Linked DNA regions of Homo sapiens: region 2 is linked to region 1. The links are contacts of gene promoters, found by promoter capture Hi-C in human tissues and cell types (Jung and others, 2019). All regions are on one chromosome and are shown on one strand. The core of a region is centred on a gene start or on the middle of the fragment in contact, and the rest is flanking DNA. Distances in the headings are between cores, read along the strand shown. Region 1 holds the start of SULT2B1 (sulfotransferase family 2B member 1). Region 2 overlaps GRIN2D (glutamate ionotropic receptor NMDA type subunit 2D).

The links. The method cuts DNA at HindIII sites, captures the fragments that hold promoters and counts their contacts. A contact is called where the count stands out against the background at its distance.
Region 2: a fragment that was not itself captured here is called in contact with the fragment with the promoter of SULT2B1 in region 1 in 1 of the 25 tissues and cell types used here (dorsolateral prefrontal cortex).

The regions. Positions count from the first base shown.
Region 1 is chr19:48,549,700-48,553,870 of GRCh38, forward strand. SULT2B1 (sulfotransferase family 2B member 1) reads left to right here and starts at 2,473. Exons shown (of 7, transcript NM_177973.2): 1 at 2,473-2,624. The coding sequence starts at 2,554. RefSeq lists an enhancer at 1,893-2,417. The HindIII fragment of the contact is 26,692 bases long and covers 1-4,171 here.
Region 2 is chr19:48,421,256-48,425,190 of GRCh38, forward strand. GRIN2D (glutamate ionotropic receptor NMDA type subunit 2D) reads left to right here. Exons shown (of 14, transcript NM_000836.4): 11 at 530-690. Among named protein-coding and RNA genes, the nearest start is that of GRWD1, 23 kb to the right of the region's middle. RefSeq lists an enhancer at 3,557-3,851. The HindIII fragment of the contact is 4,602 bases long and covers 1-3,792 here.

The DNA of each region.
Region 1 (4,171 bases), core at 1,223-3,722:
GGTGACGAGTGCTATGGGAAAAAGTAAAACAGGAAAGAGGAATGGAGAAGTTGGTGGACGAGCCTGGGGGAGGTGACACTGGGCAGAGTCAGACGATAGGAGCCCACGAAGCTCCCAGGTATCAGGAACATGCGGGAATAGCAAGGGCAAAGGCCCTGCAGTAGGAGCCTCCCCTGGGTCTTAGGCCGCCTAGTTTGGCCAGTTTCTTTCCATTGCCCACTCAGGCACAACCTCAGGCCCTACTGCTCCCCAACCTTCCTGTGCCCCGGGGATGCCTCCGCACCTGCCTGCGAGTTTCCCTCTCAGGATCCCTAAGGACCTGGGCATTCCCTTCCCCAGACTCTCCCTAACCCCCCACCCCAGCAGCACACAGAGCCAGGGACAAAGGGTCATTGAATAGAAAACAAAGGTGAAGACAGCCCAGCCGGAGGCCTGGTGGGGTGTCATGGTTCAGTCCCCCACCTCCGACATCAGAGGGGTTCACTCAGCCTCAGAGGGGGATGCCTGGCCCTCTCACCCTTCCACCCACCCTGCAAGAGAGCCTTTTTATCAGCAGGAACATCAAGGCTTAACACTGAAAGTATCAAGGCAGAATGTTGAGGATGTGGACTCGGTAGTGGCTGGGGGCAGGGGCGGGTGCTCCCACAGCTCAGCCTCCTGGAGACGGGTCTTGGGGTGGTGAATTGAGAGATGGGATACCCCAGAACCCTCCTTTTCTGCTTACCATCAGAGTGAAGGCGGGCAGTGCTGTGTGCCCTGGGGGAAGCCACATTACCTCTCTGGGCCCCCTTCCTGCATCTGTTAGGTGAGTCTGACGTCTTCCATCCCCCTCACCTATGCAACAATAATTGGTCAGTATATACAATTTTATTTGTTTTGGCTTTTTTTTTTTTTCTTTTTGAGATGGAGTTTCACTCTTGTTGCCCAGGCTGGAGTGCAACAGTACAATCTTGGCTCGCTGCAACCTCTGCCTCCAGGGTTCAAGTGATTCTCCTGCCTCAGCCTCCCGAATAGCTGGGATTACAGGCACCTGCCACCATGCCCAGCTAATTTTTTGTATTTTTAGTAGAGATGGGGTTTCACTATGTTGGCCAGGCTGGTCTTGAACTCCTGACCTCAGGCGATTCACCCGCCTCGGCCTCCCAAAGTGCTGGAATTACAGGCGTGAGCCATTGCACAGGCTTTCTTTTGGCATTTTTTTTTTTTTTTTGAGATGGAGTCTCTCTCTGTCGCCCAGGCTGCAGTGCAGTGATGTGATCTCAGCTCACTCCAACCTCCACCTCCCAGGTTCAAGCGATTCTCGTGTCTCAGCCTCCCAAGTAGCTGGGATTACAGGCACCTGCCACCACTGGTGGGGAGACTGGCTTCATGACTCCAGGACTCTGAGGGGTCAGGGACCAACAGCTGGGGAGGGCCAGGGTTTGGGGTGGGGGCAGAAGAGAAGAGAACACCGTCTATGCTGAGCTCACTGTGTACCAGATCCTCCACCAGCAGCTGAGAGTGTCTCCCTCAGTCCTCACAACAGCCCGATGGGTGCCATTCACAGATGGGGAAACTAAGGCAAGATGAGCCTATGAGCAAGATGGTTCCCGGCCCCACAGCTGGGAGGCACTGGAGCTGGGATTTGAACCAGGGCTGTGACCTTCAGACTCTCACGCCCAACCATATCTGGCAGTTGTCTCTCATATCTGTGTCTCTCCCTGTCCCTGACCTTTCTATGTATCTCTGTCTCTGCCCTCTGTATATCGCTGCTGGGTCTCTCAGGGTCTCTGACCCCTGTGTGTCTCTGTCTCCTCTGGGTGTCCGTGTGTCTCTGTCTCCGCCCTCCGTGTATCTCTGTTGCGTCTCTCAAGGTCTCTGGCCCCTGTGCATCTCAGTCCCCTCCTGGTCTCTGTCTCCCATGCCCTCTGCCCTCTCCCTTTCTCCCTGGCTCCCGCCCTGTCTGTGCTGCCGTGGTCCTGGCTGTGCCTCTGTCCCTGTGTCTGTTTCCAGGGTGCCCCTTACGCGTCAGCCCGTGAGGGCAAGTTTCTGTCTGCCCCTTCCCCAGCGGTGGCCTAGTGCTTGGAACAGCGCCTGGCAGACAGGAGATGCTCAGTAAATATTTCTCAAATGAATAAAGGAATGAATGAGTGAATGAATGAATGAATGAATGAACTCGCTGAGATGGGCGAGATCAGCGCCATTTCCCAAATGAGCAACGTGGGCTCCAGGTGGGTGCCCACAGGCCCAGAACTGCCAGCCCGGAAGGTTCTGGCGTGGGCTTGGCACTGACCCCCTGGACTCTGCCCCCAGCTGAGCACCAGACGCCAGGACGTGCCCATCACTGCTCCTCCCCGCCCTCAGAGCAGGGTGGCTCCCTCTGGCCTCTCCCCGCTGTTGGAGGCGTGGGTAGCAGCTGGGAGAACCGGCTGGGTGCTGCCCCTCCCCTTGGGCCGGGCACGGAGTAGGCACCTGGCGGGCTCCCCAGGTGGCAGACGCTGTCGCTGCGCACACCTGGCCTCTGTGCCGCCTGCTCCCTGCTCGTCCTCCCCTCCCCACCCTCACCCACCTGCCATGGACGGGCCCGCCGAGCCCCAGATCCCGGGCTTGTGGGACACCTATGAAGATGACATCTCGGAAATCAGGTGAGGCCCAGACCTGGGCAGGAGCCAGGAGATCCCAGGGAGGAGGTGGCTGTTTGGGGGAGCCGGGGACTGTGGCAAGGGTGGCCTCCAGCCACCCGCAGCCGCAGGCCTGGCCCAGACTTAGCTGGAGGGGCTGGGCTGGGCTGGGGCATCCAGTGTGGTGTATAGGTCCCTCCTGAGAAGGGAGTGAGGACCCGACCGTGTTGAGTCACCAGTGGGGATGCCTGGGGTGTCCCTGTCGCTCTCCGGGCCTCAGTTTTTCTGTCTGTCAAAGGGGCCCACAAGCCCTGTGTCTCCCTGATAGAGCAGTGGAAGAGAGCAGGCAGCTTGGTGCATAGTAGTTGCTCAGGAAACACAACAGCCTGTAGTACCCAGGACACCCCATGCAAGCCCTGAAATAACGGGGGTGCTTGGGGGTGAAATGGGAGAGACTGGGATGCTGCTGAGACCCCCAGAGGGAGAAGCTGTGTTCTAGGGCACTTGGGGCGGAGAGGGCAGGCTCTGGACTCTTCAGGTCTCCTAACAGTGGTTAGGGCAGAGCACTGCCCACTTCCATGAGCTCAGCGTGACTCCCTCTTCCTGGGGATGAGTCAGACACTTTGACAGTACCTGCTTTCCAGATGGGGAAACTGAGGCTGGGAGGGAACGCGACATGACCGCAATTACGCAGCTAGAAGCAAATCTGAACCCGGTCTGTCTCACGCCAGAGCCTGTGGTTTCTCCTGCTCCTCACAGCCTTGGTGATGTCCCCTTTACACCCCTCCCCGTGGCTCCATCTTTTAGGGGAGCGCAGAGGCCCAGAGAGGGCAGGCAGCCTGCCCCAGATCACACAGCAAACTGCTGAGACAATCTCCAACCCCTCGTATCTTGCACTCTTGCCAAGTGAGACCTTCCTGGCAGCCTGGGCCCCTCCAGCCACCGTGGGCTGTGAGGAGGGAGACAACCAAGACCTGTTCTCAGCCCAGTTGCCTCATTCCTTTCTTATTTTATTTTATTTTTTTGAAATGGAGTTTCGCTCTTGTTGCCCAGGCTGGAGTGCAATGGCACGATATCAGCTCACTGCAGCCTCCGCGTCCTGGGTTCAAGTGATTCTCCAGCCTCAGCTTCCCAAGTAACTGGGATTACAGGAGCCCGCCACCATGCCCGGCTAATTTTATTTTTGTATTTTTAGTAGAGAAAGGGTTTCACCATGTCGGCCAGGCTGTTCTTGAACTCCTTGCCTCAGGTGATCCACCTGCCTCGGCCTCCCAAAGTGCTGGGATTACAGGCGTGGGCCACCACGCCTGGCCGCCTCATTTCATTCCACTGTTTCAGGCCCTCCCCTCCCCTCCCTCAGCCAGAAGCTGGGGCATGAAGAGGCCTTCCTGGGTGCCTGGGACTCCAGAGACAGGAGCAGTTCAATCCTGATTGCTGTGTGACCTAGACAAGCTTCCTGATGTCTCTGGGCCTCCTGGGCTGAGAGCTGTGACCAGGCTGGCCCAGTTCTGCGTGAGGGAGGCCCCAGCATTCTTTACTCAACATTGTCTAATCCAGGACTTCTGAGTTCT
Region 2 (3,935 bases), core at 242-2,741, 130 kb before region 1:
CCATCTCTACTAAAAATACAAAACTGGCTGGGCATGGTGGTATGTGCCTGTAATCCCAGCTACTCGGGAGGCTGAGGCAGGAGAATCAGTTGAACCTGGGAGGCGGAGGTTGCAGTGAGCTGACAGTGTGCCATTGCACTCCAGCCTGGGCAACAAGAGCAAGACTCCGTTTAAAAAAAAAAAAGTGAACTATTTCTGAACGGATTGGTAAATAGCAACAGCTCCCAGCTCCTGCCATGCCAGCCTCTACTCCCAGGACCTCCCGCGATTCAGTAAGTGAAGACTTAACACCTGGCACATCAGGGGCCTCAGGGAGGCTTCTCGTGAACTTTTGGATCACGTGTCTGCAACCGTGTGTGCTGGGTGGGAGTGGAAAAGCATTCCCTAATGTAGTGAGCGAGTGTTGAGAAATATTGAACACTCCTGGGACTGGGGTGTCTGCCAGATAGCGGGTGTGTCTCAGAATGGGTGATTTATGTTAGGGATGTCCCTGCGGAGGGTGCCCTAATCACTCCCCATTCTGCCCCAGTTCCAGAGGCCCCAGGAGCAGTACCCGCCCCTGAAGTTTGGGACCGTGCCCAACGGCTCCACGGAGAAGAACATCCGCAGCAACTATCCCGACATGCACAGCTACATGGTGCGCTACAACCAGCCCCGCGTAGAGGAAGCGCTCACTCAGCTCAAGGCAGGGTCAGCGCAGACTCGGGCCGGGGGTGGGGGTTGGGCCGCTGGGGACCTGAGGATGCTCAAAGATGGCAAGGGGTCCAGGTTCATTCATTCAGTCCCAGAGGTCAGCCCTGGGTGGGTCAGCTTGGAGGGCGGAGGTCACTGAGGGTGGAAGTGGACTCCTCCTCCCAGGAGCAGGCTCCTTGGGATATTTTCTGGGATGCAGTATTTCTGGATTCTGGGGTGAGACTGATGGGGCTCAAATCTTTGCTCTTCCCCTTCTTGGCTTTGTGACCTTGGGCAAGTTACTCAGCCTCTCTGAACCTCTGTTTCCTCCTCTGTAAAATGAGGATAACAAGAGTATCCCCACTGTAATGATCATAAGGTTGTTACAAGAATTATACTAGTAAGCCGGGCACGGTGGCTCATGCCTGTAATCCCAGCACTTTCAGAGGCCAAGGCAGGCGGATCACAAGGTCAGGAGATCGAGACCATCCTGGCCAACATGGTGAAACCTGGTCTCTACAAAAAATACAAAAATTAGCTGGGCGTGGTGGCACGCGCCTGTAGTCCCAGATACTTGGGAGGCTGAGGCAGGAGAATCGCTTGAACCTGGGAGTCGGAGGTTGCAGTGAGCCGAGATCATGCCACTGCACTCCAGCCTGGCGACAGAGCGAGACTCCGTCTCAAAAAAAAAAAAAAGAATTAAACTAGTTAGTCCACTCAGAACATTTATTTATTTATTTAGAACAGTGCCCGGTGCACTATAGGTGTTTGCTGATATTATCATTATCATTAGACCTGAACTCACTGGAATCAATGCTTAGATTGTGTTTCTTATCTTTTTACATCCCTTTCCCAAATCATAGGGATGAAGTTAAATTCAGAGGCCAGGCGCAGTAGCTCACGCCTATAATCCCAGCACTTTGTGAGGCGGAGACGGGCAGATCACTTCAGGTCAGGAGTTGGAGACCACCTGGCCAACATAGTGAAACCCCATCTCTACTTAAAATACAAAAATTAGGCTGGGTGCGGCAACAGGCTCTTGGGAGGCCGAGACGGGCAGATCATTTGAGGTCAGGAGTTTGAGAACAGCCTGGCCAACATGATGAAACCTTGTCTCTACTTAAAATACAAAAATTAGCCGGGCGTGGTGGCGGGCGCCTGTAATCTCAGCTGCTTGGGAGGCTGAGGCAGGAGGATCGCTTGAATGCAGGAGGCGGAGGTTGCAGTGAGCCGAGACTGTGCCATTGCACTCCAGCCTGGGCAACAGAGACAGACTCCGTCTCAAAAAGAAAACAATACAAAAAAAGTTGAGTTCAGGCCCCAAAGTGCAGCCCACGAATACAACAAGGCTGAGCACAGTAACTCTCTCCCCGTCCTGCATTTACTCAGTCCTTCCGTGTGCATTTTTCTTATCCTCTGCTGTACGCTAAGCGGTGAACAAATAGACCCGATTCCTAGGTCTAGAGGTGGGAAATGAACAATAAACATGCAAACAGAAAAATCAAGATCTCTTCAGAAAGTGATGGTGAGCTAGAGGGCGGCAGGGCTGGGATATTTTCACCAGGGTGTTCAGGGTGGGCTTCTCGGAGGAGGTGACATTTGTGCAGAGCCCTGCAGGAGGTGAAAGAGCTAGCCAGGTGGACTTCCGGAAGCAGAGCCTTCAGACGGAGGGAACAGAGTGTGCAAAGGGCCTGAGGAAGGTGCAGTGTTGGTTTACTGGAGGAACAGCAAGAAGGCCAGTGTGGTTGAAGGGCAAGGAGCTGAGGTGAGAGAGTAGATGAGGGGAGGATTCTGGGCATGAGGCCAAGGTCAGGGCTGGACTTTATGCTAAAGGCGGTGAGAAGCCTTGAGGTGTGGAGATTTTACGTAAGGAAGGGTATGATCTGATTTCTGTTTTTGTTTGTTTTGAGACAGGATCTCACTCTGTTGCCCAGGCTGGAGTGCAGTAGTTCGATCTCAGCTCACTGCAACCTCCGCCTTCCCTGGGTTCAAGCAATTCTCCCACCTCAGCCTCCTGAGTAGCTGGGATTACAGGCGTGCACTACTATGCCTGGCTAATTTTTGTATTTTTGGTAGAGATGAGGTTTCACCATGTTGGTCAGGCTGGTCTTGAACTCCTGACATGAGGTGATCTGCCTGCCTCAGCCTCCCAAAGTGCTGGGATTAGAGGCGTGAGCCACCATGCCTGGCTTAAAAAAATTTCTAATGCCCAATGCAGTGGCTCACACCTGTAATCCTAAAGCTTTGTGAGGCCAAGGTGAGAGGATCACTTAAGACCAGGAGTTCAAGACCAGCCTGTGAAACATAGTGAGACCCCCTTGACTCACAAAAAAAAAAATTTTTTTTTTTTTTTTTTTTTTTGAGACAGAGTCTCGCTCTGTTGCCCAGGCTGGAGTGCAGTGGCACAATCTCGGCTCACTGCAAGCGCCGCCTCCCGGGTTCACGCCATTCTCCTGCCTCAGCCTCCCGAGTAGCTGGGACTACAGGCGCCCACCACCACGCCCAGCTAATTTTTTGTATTTTTAATAGAGACGGGGTTTCACCGTGTTAGCCAGGATGGTCTCGATCTCCTGACCTCGTGATCCACCCGCCTCAGCCTCCCAAAGTGCTGGGATTACAGGCGTGAGCCACCGCGCCTGGCTGGAAATTACTTTTAATAATATATTTTACCTAACTATGTCCAAAATATTATTTTGACACGTAATCAGTATAAACATGGGTGAGACCGTTTACATAATTTTTTTCCCCACACGCTGTCTTTGATATCTGTGGCATTTTACACTCACAGCACATCTAGGTTCAGAGTGACCACATTTCAAGTGATCCACAGCCCTAGTGGCGTGTCACTGCTGCACTGGACCGCCCAGGTCGACATCACCCAAATGCAAAAAGTTTCCTAGTCAACATAATGAACAGAAAATATAAAAGGGCGCTGGCCGCCCCCCAGGACCCTGGGACTTTTTCACTTCCTTACTCACCCAGAGCATTCTCCCCAGCCAGCCTGCTGACTCATCTCTCCCCCTTCCCCCTTCTTCCGTTTTCTTCTCGCCAGCCCTTCCCTCCAGGAAGGACCCTGAGAATTCCAGATTCTCTCTTCTCTCTCTCTCTCTCTCTCTCACACAAAACAGGGTGCCTTTCCAGGCTGCCACCTCCCACCTCTGCTTCACTTGCGCCTTCCTCAGAAGGCAGGGATGGCTGCAAACAGAATCACTTTCCTCTTTTACCCCTTCAGGGATACCTCACACTGCCAGCCTGCTCAGTCC